Linked DNA regions of Homo sapiens: regions 1 and 2 are each linked to region 3. The links are contacts of gene promoters, found by promoter capture Hi-C in human tissues and cell types (Jung and others, 2019). All regions are on one chromosome and are shown on one strand. Each heading gives the region's core, a stretch centred on a gene start or on the middle of the fragment in contact. The rest is flanking DNA. Distances are from core to core; before and after follow the strand shown.

The links. The method cuts DNA at HindIII sites, captures the fragments that hold promoters and counts their contacts. A contact is called where the count stands out against the background at its distance.
Region 1: a contact is called between a fragment that was not itself captured here and the fragment with the promoter of MAPK8IP1 in region 3, in 2 of the 25 tissues and cell types used here (bladder and heart right ventricle).
Region 2: a contact is called between a fragment that was not itself captured here and the fragment with the promoter of MAPK8IP1 in region 3, in 1 of the 25 tissues and cell types used here (H1 embryonic stem cells).

What each region holds. Positions count from the first base shown.
Region 1 is chr11:46,023,324-46,026,645 of GRCh38, reverse strand. The region is part of intron 6 of PHF21A (PHD finger protein 21A); the gene reads left to right. Among named protein-coding and RNA genes, the nearest start is that of PHF21A, 96 kb to the left of the region's middle. The HindIII fragment of the contact is 4,792 bases long and covers 1-3,322 here.
Region 2 is chr11:46,097,877-46,100,938 of GRCh38, reverse strand. All of the region lies in intron 1 of PHF21A (PHD finger protein 21A), which reads left to right. Among named protein-coding and RNA genes, the nearest start is that of PHF21A, 22 kb to the left of the region's middle. The HindIII fragment of the contact is 3,376 bases long and covers 1-3,053 here.
Region 3 is chr11:45,884,219-45,887,598 of GRCh38, reverse strand. It overlaps MAPK8IP1 (mitogen-activated protein kinase 8 interacting protein 1), which reads right to left and starts at 1,948. Exons shown (of 12, transcript NM_005456.4): 1 at 1,678-1,948. The coding sequence starts at 1,778. RefSeq lists a silencer at 1,687-2,086. The HindIII fragment of the contact is 16,221 bases long and covers 1-3,380 here.

The sequences.
Region 1 (3,322 bases), core at 349-2,848, 140 kb before region 3:
ATTTTTTTTTTGCATTTTCTAATTCAGATTATAAAAGACAGTCAGCCATTCAATATGGAAACAGTTTACCACATAAACTTGTTTGAGGGGCGAACAGGGTAGAGAAGAGGTAGCTAAAGCTTTCCACAAGAGAAAAAGTCTCAATGCTCTCCCTTAGGTTTATTTTAAAGGGCCAAAAAGAGGTATATTAATAAAAATAACCTTGACACCTGTTTATGCAAAGGATCATGAAGCATTGGAATGATATTCTAAGTCCTATTCATTGTCAGCTTTCATGTACCTTGTGCATGACATCTACATCATGGATTGTCTGCACCTCAATATTCCACCTCAGGCAGTTTCCCCCTAAGGCACATTTTACTACAAAACATATCCCATGCCACTGAGCTGGGGTGGAATTTTAATTTTAAAACTTAGTCAAAACATAATTTTATAGATATATCTATCCCCAAAGGACTGAAAATTTTAAAGCCAAATATAACGAAGTTTTGGATATTTTGGTATTTTGGTTTAACCTTAGCCCAGGTCTCTCGCCTAAGTACGAATAGTCAGAAAGCCAACTTCCTCTGATACCAGGATATATTTAGATAACTTGGCATGATCTGAGACTCTCTTTTACTTAAAGGACATTCTTGGGACATTGTCAAAATCTGCATAAAGTCTGGAGATAATAGTATTGTATCAGTGTTGATTTTCTGATTTTTCCCCTCAACATTTTATTTTGAAATGTCTTCGCCTACAATAAAAGTTGAAAACACTTTAATTTACAATGGGCTATGAGCAGTCACAGCCCATCACCTATACTTGCTCCATCACATATCTGCCGATGACTCTGTCTTATGAAAAGCCATATTATGCCTATGACTTGCAAATAATTCCAGAGAAAAATTATGTGTTTGTGGAGAGAGCAAGAGAGGAGAATAAAAAAAATGTGGTAAAGATAACATTTTTGGGGAATTTGGGTGAAAGGTATATAGGAATTTTCTGTGCCATTACAACTTTTCTGTAACCCTGAAATTGTGTCAAAGTGAAAATTTTTTAAATGAGATTATAAGAGCATAATCAAATTGGAATTTTCTTAGGATACCAGAGAATCATTTTCTTCTCAGGTAAAGGAATTTTTCTTTTGTAGTCCAGAGCTATACATGATTAAGAAAATGTTCAGACCAGGAAGATGACATCTCTGCTAACCTAATCGATTATCATGGAAGGTCTAGAATTGGTGCTAAAGCAGGAAGAAAGGGGATATCTACTTCATCAGAAAGTATTTGAATTTGACCTAAAAACCAACTAAAATGTTCACTTTCCTATTGGTCATATTGTGTGAAAGGGACATAGTAAGTTTGAGAAAAGAAGAAATTCAGTGGGGATAAGACAGAAGAAGACTCCACCTCTTTGTATCTGTGGTATGAAATCATACTCTGTTGGGAGATGGAGAAAAGTTGTTTTTTTTTTTTAATCTGTATACATATGCCCCAGAGAAAATTATTTTCTTTCAACATATTCCTGTCACTGTTATCTCTTTCAGAGAAAGCTCCTTGTGGATAGGCAGTGTGTGTTTATTTTCATAAAGTTTCTAGAACACCATTACTCAGCTGGCTAATAGTGTTAATGACAAGATTAAGAAGCGAGGTGGAACAGCATAGCATAATGCTGATCTTGAGTAGCTTCCTGTGAGAAATTATTTATTGGAAGGGATGTTCAATAATAAGGGATGATGGCTTTATAGACTAGTCTAGAACTAGGAGTCACTATGGTATAGAAAAGGGAAATTAAGGGATCATCAGGATGGCAGGTTTATTCTTAAAGAAGTCCCTAAGTCTTTCTTTCTTTCTTTCTTTTTTTTGAGATGGAGTCTCACTTGGTCACCCAGGCTGGAGTGCAGTGGCACAATCTTGGCTCACTGCAACCTTCACCTCCTGGGTTCTAGCTATTCTCCTGCCTCAGCCTCCTGAGTACTGGGATTATAGGCGTGTGCCACCACACCTGGCTAATTTTTTGTATTTTTAGTAGAGATGGGGTTTCACCATTGTGGTCAGGCTGGTCTTGAACTCCTGACCTCAAGTGATCCACCTGCCTCGGCCTCCCAAAGTCCTGGAATTACAGGCATGAGCCACCATGCCAGGCCCAAAAGTCCCTAAGTCTTAATTAAAGTATAGAGGAAAAAATAGAAGAGAATCTAAACTAGGTGGCCACATCAGAGAGAAGCTTAATATTACATAAAAAGCAATTAAAAGCATTGTTTTAATGGAAGAAAAGTGATGTTGCTTAATAACAAGCAGAAAGCACTTTCATGGGAGAAAGGAGGCTACAAGAAAAAGAGAAGGACAGAGGAAAGAGATATAGGGAGAGAGGGAGGGAAAGTTTTGATAGCCTAGACATGTAAGTGGGAGAAATAGGAAAGTCAGAGAAGATAATAATTTAATGGAAGGTAGATTTATGCCTGGATCAGGTTGTGATGGGAAGGAGGAGAAAGAAAGAGGACCAGCAACTCAGTTAGCCCAACATATAAAATCATTAAGCTGGGAGATATCCCCAGACACCACCTTGCCCTTTCCTTGCTTTCATAACCAATTGCAACTAATCCAGTATTTCCCAAACTGTGTTCCTTAGAACATCAGTGTTCCCACATGTTACAGGTTGCTACATGCTCTATGCCATTCAGTGATTCTTTTTGTTTGTTTGTTTTCGAGATGGTGTCTTGCCGTGTCGCCCAGGATGGAGTGCAATGGCACGATCTTGGCTCACTGCAACCTCCGCCTCCTGGGTTCAAGCAATTTTCCTGCCTTAGCCTCCTGAGTAGCTGGGATTATAGGCACCCGCCACCACACCTGGCTAATTTTTGTATTTTTAGTAGAAACAGGGTTTCACCATGTTGGCGAGGCTGGTCTCAAACTCCTGACCTCAGGCGATCCGCCCACCTCTGTCTCCAAAAGTGTTGGGATTACAGGCATGAGCCACTGCGCCTGGCCTCCATTCAGTGATTCTTAACACACATTAGCAACTGAGGATAAAGAATCCTTTAGTAAAAATCTATTTAAGTGTGTTTAACTTGGTATTTGGTAAACTTACTAACCTCTTTTTCAGGAACACACCTTTTCATATCTGAGGGGATACCAGTATTCCATATGACACAGTTTAGGAATGCTGACCTAACCCTTTCTAGAAAGAGAGCAGTCTTCTTTCTTAATTTCCTTACCTGGTTTTGGAAATGGGTTTTGGCACTTCCCAAATGGTAGTCTGGTTCCGAAATGTTACCTAAATCCCTTCTGCTCATGACTTCTTACTCTGGGCAAAATAGCTCTGTGCAAGACAGACTCAC
Region 2 (3,062 bases), core at 116-2,615, 210 kb before region 3:
TTATAAAATGGTTTGTCAAGGAGGGACTTTTGACTACCTGCTATCTTTAGACGTGGTAACAGTGGTTAGAAACTTGCTATGTGCTCCCTTGTTTGCTCTTCTTTGCACTGTAAGTTGTACATATGTCTGCAGTTGTGGGGCGTGTTCATTAGGAGTCACTACAAGGTAATGGTAGACTTATTTCTGAATTTATTTGGTTGCATTAGTTTAAATTAGACCCACAGGTGTAATTATTCCATCTCAATGCATGGGGAAGCATAGTCAGTGAAAGTTGTGCATGTAAACCCCTGTGCATTGAAAATGTGTCTTTAATGTTATGATGTTATTTGGCATCTATCATTTAGTGCAAGGAGTATACTTACTTAACAGGACCTTTAATAAGTTCCCTCTACACCAAAGATATATATTTTAAAAATTATACTTAAGAAGACTTTGTGGTATTCCCCAGAAGAGTTCGCCTATAGCAGCAAAACCTTTCTAAAATAAAACTTATTCTTTTAACCGGTATTCATTTAAGTGGGTTTCTCTCTACTTGGTTTCCATGGAAATAGCAAATAGCTAACGTTATTTATAAGGTGGAAGTAAAATAGGGTGCCTAATGGGACCCCATGCTGCTCTGATGAAGAGACTTAGGAAAAAAGTCCATGCTCATGGGATTTTTTTTTTTTTAAACAAGGTTAATGGAAGCCCTGATTTCAGTCTTCTGTAACATAACATATTTTTGGTCTTAAAGGCTAGCATTAATATCAAGCAAACAACTTCTTTTTGAGGTCTGTATTGCTTTCACTTTCAAGTTTTAGGACTACTTACTTATCAGCGTGATTGAGGCATGTTTCAGACTCCTGTTTCTTTGTGGTTTTTGTTTCAAAAGTTAAAATTCCCAGTGTATTGTAGCTGTTTCCACTTCTCATTGACATTTCAAAGTACTGATAAAAAGATAAATGTTCATTAAGGATAGCAGTGGTGAGAAAGGATCAATATGTTGGACTACAAAGATTTTTTAAAAAATGTAAATTGTATGGAACCATTTTTAGTTTTTAGGCCTAAAGTCAGGGTTCTTTTTTATTTGTGTTGTGGAGCTAAACCTGTATAGTCAGAGAGAAGAGATTCTAATTTTCTTTCAGGCTGGAAACAGGGAAAATCTTAATTTCTCTTTCCTTTTTAAAAAATGGATTGTTGCCAAAACCTTTTAACTGAAATAAATGTTAATTCTTTTAGTGCTTGAAATGTGGATTTGGAATAAAGCTTGGCTTTTTTCTCACTTCTTCGGTAAGGCCTACTCTGAGTTTTCTAGGCCTGCAGCAAAGCCTTGCATTTTTTAAGCCCCTTCAAGTGAAAGAGTATCATTCCCTTTGTGTTTGTGTTTGTGTTTAGGGTGTGTGTGTGTGTGTGTGTGTGTGTGTGTGTGTGTGTGTCTAATTTTTCTATAGCCTGAAAGGCACCTGCTCATTTTCCAGCCTAGTGAGTACAGCAGTGCTATATTGAGAAGTGAGGCAGGATGGAACACAATAAGGTGCTATAATTTTTATTTAGTTAGTTTTGCTCATCCTCGGCAGCTTGTGATCACTGTCCATTTATCTGGAAGTACTCTGATTATTCTTGGCTATCGATGCAGCAGGAGTTTTCTTCTGTGTTTAAAGCAAGGACTGTAGTATACTGAGGGCTCCATCAGGGAGGAGTTGAGTTTTGTTTTGTGTGCATGTGTTTCTCTGGATAAGCTTCTGGCTATAGTTGGGTTTACTGTGCTTTAATTTTTTAAAATTTGGTTGTTTTAATCTTGTTGAATTTATTTTTGTGTGAGATATTTTTCTCTAGCAATTCACTAATTTCTTCTGTGTATGTTGATGCTATTTTATAAAATTTTCTTAATGTGTTGTTCTTTTAGTTTAACTTCTTCTTGTTTATTTTTAAAATCTGGTATCTAGCATTGACCTTTCTTAGTGACTTTTATTTGAATTATCTTGTGCTTTAGAGACATAGGAATTTGGGTCTATTATCCCATTTCTGAGCGAACAACTCCCAGTAGTTACAGTTAGTGCAATAGAAAGGGTTCTCACAGATGCAGTGCTGGGCGTTGATCCTCCTCCTTGGTGCTTATGGTTTACACCCAGAACTCCCATTAGTGTTAATAGGAGGCACTTCCTTAAATCCCTGTACACCAAAATAAGCTCAAACTCTTTTATAATGCCTTATAGATACCTGAGTTGTTTTTTTGTTGTTAATGACAAGAGTTTTAGTCCTGAGGTTAACTGATTATTAAGATAGAGTTTGAGTTGTCTTGGGATAAGGAGTGATTTACTAAGTCTGATCTATAATTAAGAAGTTTTCGTTATGATCATTAGACTCAGAAAACAGCTTCGTGAGAGCTATGGAAGCTTGTGAATAAGGATTTTTGTACTTTATAGAGTGAGGAAGCAAGATTTCTTCTTTCTATTTATTTCTGCTATTTCTTCTCAACCATAAAAAATGGTTCTAACAGTTTTTGTTTATATTGTAAGAAGACTTAGAAAAATTGTTTTGTTTTTTATTCTACTTAAAAGCCTTCCTGTAATTACCCTCTGGCCTCAAAGTCTTTTATTAGCTAGTGTGGCTCACATTTTTCAAGCATATAGAAGTTAATATGCACTGTTTTAGAACTTAGACACTACAACCACTGGTCAAGTAATAGATAATCAGTGTTTACTACACCCATCTGTGAATTGTGGATTTTTATTACTTCCATTTATTTATGTACAGTCTAAATCTTTGTAGATTTTAGCTAGTCATCTGGACTTCTTGGACCTCTGTTCCTCCATGAAATGAAGGTATGGATCTGCCCTCTGAGGTGTCCATTCTAGTTTTAGGCTGTTTGAAGGCCTACTTTCCTAGGTACTGAAGGAAATAGAGTACTGTAAGGCAGGCAGTGGTTTCTAATCCTGGCTCCCTATTAGAATCTTTTGGGGGAACTTAAATACAGATCTATGGGTTCTAAATAAGACATAATATATTCAATATCTTTAAGGGTAGGGCCTGTGAACCTGTATTTTTTGAAGTTTTATGTGTTATCCTGATCTAGGATTGAG
Region 3 (3,380 bases), core at 699-3,198:
GGGCCAGAGGCAGGGCTGGGACGTAGAGTGGACTAAACACGCACAGACCTGGGTCCCAGTGTAGCCTTAGTCTCTGACTCTTTTGTAGTCTCCAGATGAGCCACCCTGCCTTTGTTAATCTCAATCACCTCATCTATAAAATGGGCAGGTCACTACCCTCTCTTGGGGCAGTTATGAGGGTTAAAGGAGGGGCCTTGGGAAGACACTCTGGACAGCAGCGAGCCGTAGTGTTGTCTGCTAGTGTGGGGGCTGACACTTGTTGAACACTGACCTGATGTGCTTTTTCTCCTTTCCAGGCAAGAATCAATATTAATTAGCCCACTTAACAGATGGCACCCAGAGAGGACAAAAACCTGCCTGGGTCATGCAGTTAGAAAGTAGTGGAGCTAGGATTTGAACCCAGGTCCCTCTAAGCCCCATGTGCTTCCACTGCAGAGGCCTCCAGGTGGGGAGGCAGTATTTGCATGGAGGCCTCATGCACCATGCCAGGTGGAGTCTCAGACCTCAGTCTAAGGCATTATCAGAGAGCTGCAGCCCTGGAGCCTTCAGGCCTGGCCTCCTCCATCTGGCCCCCTCTGGTCCTTCCAGCTCAGCTCAGGGCCTCAGGGAAGGTTTCTGAGTTTGATGATGCTATTAGAGATCCCCAGGGGTCTCTGCCCACCTGAGGACCTGGGAGCCAGTGACCCCTTGCTCCCAGGAGGGGCTGGCACCACAGCCCAGCTGGAGCCTGGCTGGGGTGGTGCCCCAGGAGAGGGGAAGGCGCCAGTTCTCGAGATGGGGAAACAATGGGGTATGTCTAAGCCTCCCTCTCTAGGCCGGGAGCAGTGACTTCGGCCTCTTCCTCCCCACCAACTAGGGTTCAGAATTATGGGGGAGGTACATCTATTCCTCCTCCACACAACACTCACCCCTCACTTCTCTGAAATGCATCGGGCCTAACACCAGATTGGGGGGTGGGGGTGGTGGAATAGGAGCTCAGGTCAGGGTTCTGGGTATTTACCCCAGCAGGGATCCCCTCGACACCCTCGCTGGCCCTGGCTACTCCAGAGCCGAGCCGACTTCCCTTCCCGCAGCCGGGCCTAGGATTCCCCTGGTTGAGGCTGAGCCTTCAGCGCCTGCCCTGAGAGACACACCTGCCTAGGTCGGTGCTGCCCAATCCAGAGAGGGGCCCGGCCACGCCAGGCCTGGCAGGTAGGCCCATCTGGCCAGGCAGGGCTCGGGGAGGGGCTCAAACATCCTCCTCCCAGCACCAACAATGTCGTTGCCCCAGGAAACTGCGACCCGCGCCCCTCCAGGCTGTTCCCAGCTCTATTCACAGGCTAAGATGCAGCCTGCCTGCCCGCTCCGGGATCGCAACCCCGACCCCAGACCCTGCCGCAGCCCGGAGGTTGGGGAGAAGGAGGCCTCCGAGCCCCCTCCTCCAATTCCAGCGCAGACCTCCCAGCCTAGGACCAGGAATGGCGGAGGGAACAGCCTCGTGAACATGCAACGGCTACCAGTCCGGACTTGAGGCTGGCGGGGCTTCTGAGGGGGGCTCTGTCCCGGGAAGAGACCCCACTCCCACGCAGCCCTTTCGTTCCCGGGTTCCCGAGGTTCTGGGGTGGGGGGCGGGCAGGGCAGCCAATGCGGATCAGTCCCCGCTGAAGGGCGAGGCGCGCGGCGGCCGGGGACTCTCACCTGAAATTGGGAGGCGAAGCGATGTGCAGCCCCAGGAACGGGGAGGCGGCGGGCGGGGACGCGGCCCCCCCTCCCAGGCCGCCGCTTTCTCGCTCCGCCATTCTCGGGCACAGCCCTGGCCATCCGGGCGGAGCGCGGCGCGGAGGAGGCGGCGGCTGCGAAGGAGGCGGAGGCGCGGCGAGAGGGCAGCCGCCGCCGCGGAGTTCGGGCTAGGCGGGCGCACCTGTGTCTGGCAGGGCGCGGCACAGCACCGCGCACGGCCCGCGGGACTGGCGAGAGCGCCCCGCGCGCGCCCCCGGGACCCGGCCGGGGTCTCGCGCGCCCCGCCCAGGCCCCGCCCCCACCCCGCCAGCCCCGCCCCCGGAGATGGCGCTCTCCGCGGTGCTGAAGCCACGGCCCCCGCGGCCCTGGGCTTGGTTCAGCCCCGCCCTAAATCCGACATCGACTCTCCTCCACCCCGTGGCCGGTGTGGGCTTTGTCCCTCCGGTTGGGCTTAGTGCCCGGGTATCAGATGACTAATGGCAGGACACTGGACCCCAAGGTCCAGGTTGGCCCCCCGCAGCAGAGACCAAGAAGGCAGGCGGAAAAGGAGGGTCGTGGAGGAAGGCAGAGAAAGGAGAGGATGTCAGTGGGCTCTTAAAGTGTACAGGTTTGGAGTCAGGTGGTGTGAATTCACTGGCTCCACAAGTGACTGGGCAGTGGGGCCTTGCATTAGTGACTTCAGAGCACTAAGGTTTGGTCTTCTTATCTGTGAAATGGGACAATAGCAGTCCCTCTCATGGTTGTTGTGAGAATGTAACGTAACACAAATGTGTTGCCTGAGACCCAGAAACACTCCACCTCCTGCGCTGGGATCCAGCCCTCACCCCAGTCCTGTCCCTTTACCTTGAGGGGACCCTCCCAAAGACTCTCCCTAGAGGCTGTCTTCTCTAAAGATTGACCCAAATCTCTCTTCAGCCCCAAACAGCTACTCGTGGTGAATTGAGCCCTCCAGGCTTCTCGGTCTCTCGCCAGGACCTTCCCAGCATTCTCCTTCTTAGCGCCTCAACTGCATTTCCTGCAGAGCACCCCTCTTCTGCACCCACAGACACACATTCTAAGACTTGGCGCCTTTCCCTCTCCTCCCACTGTTGACTTCTTGGGATCATTTTGGTTGTTTCTGTTCCCTCTGGCACCTCCATCCCTGCTAGGCTTTGGCCATGGCTTCTTCCTCATTGTCTCTCCCTCGAGAGGGTGTTATTCCTGGGCTTCCAGGCCTTCAAGTCCCTGAGTTTCCCGATTGAGTTATTTCAGAGTACGGACTGCCAAGGCTAGGGCCTTAGCTTTGCTGGGTCGTAGAGCCTCTGGTCAAACCTCATTGGCTTCTCTGGTCTCTCGAGAGAACCCTAGAGACCCTGTCCACAGGGCAGAAAACGTGCAGAGCAAACTGTGCCACAACTCGTGGAGTCCTATTTGCAAATCTGGACTGCCGACCAGTCATGCTGGCCCCTTTCCTTCAGTGCGGCACCTAGCAAGGAGCTGGAGGCACCTTCCGTGCAGAAGGCAACCTCCGACCACCAGCCCTGAGAATATCCCAATACCTAGAGCCAAAGGTCATGGCTGCTTCTCTTTTCCCTGTCCCTGGGGCCCAGAGGGGTGGCCACTACTTTCTCAGCTTTCGTGATCAGGCCCCTTTCACTGGGCCCTCACGGTAATCATCTGCT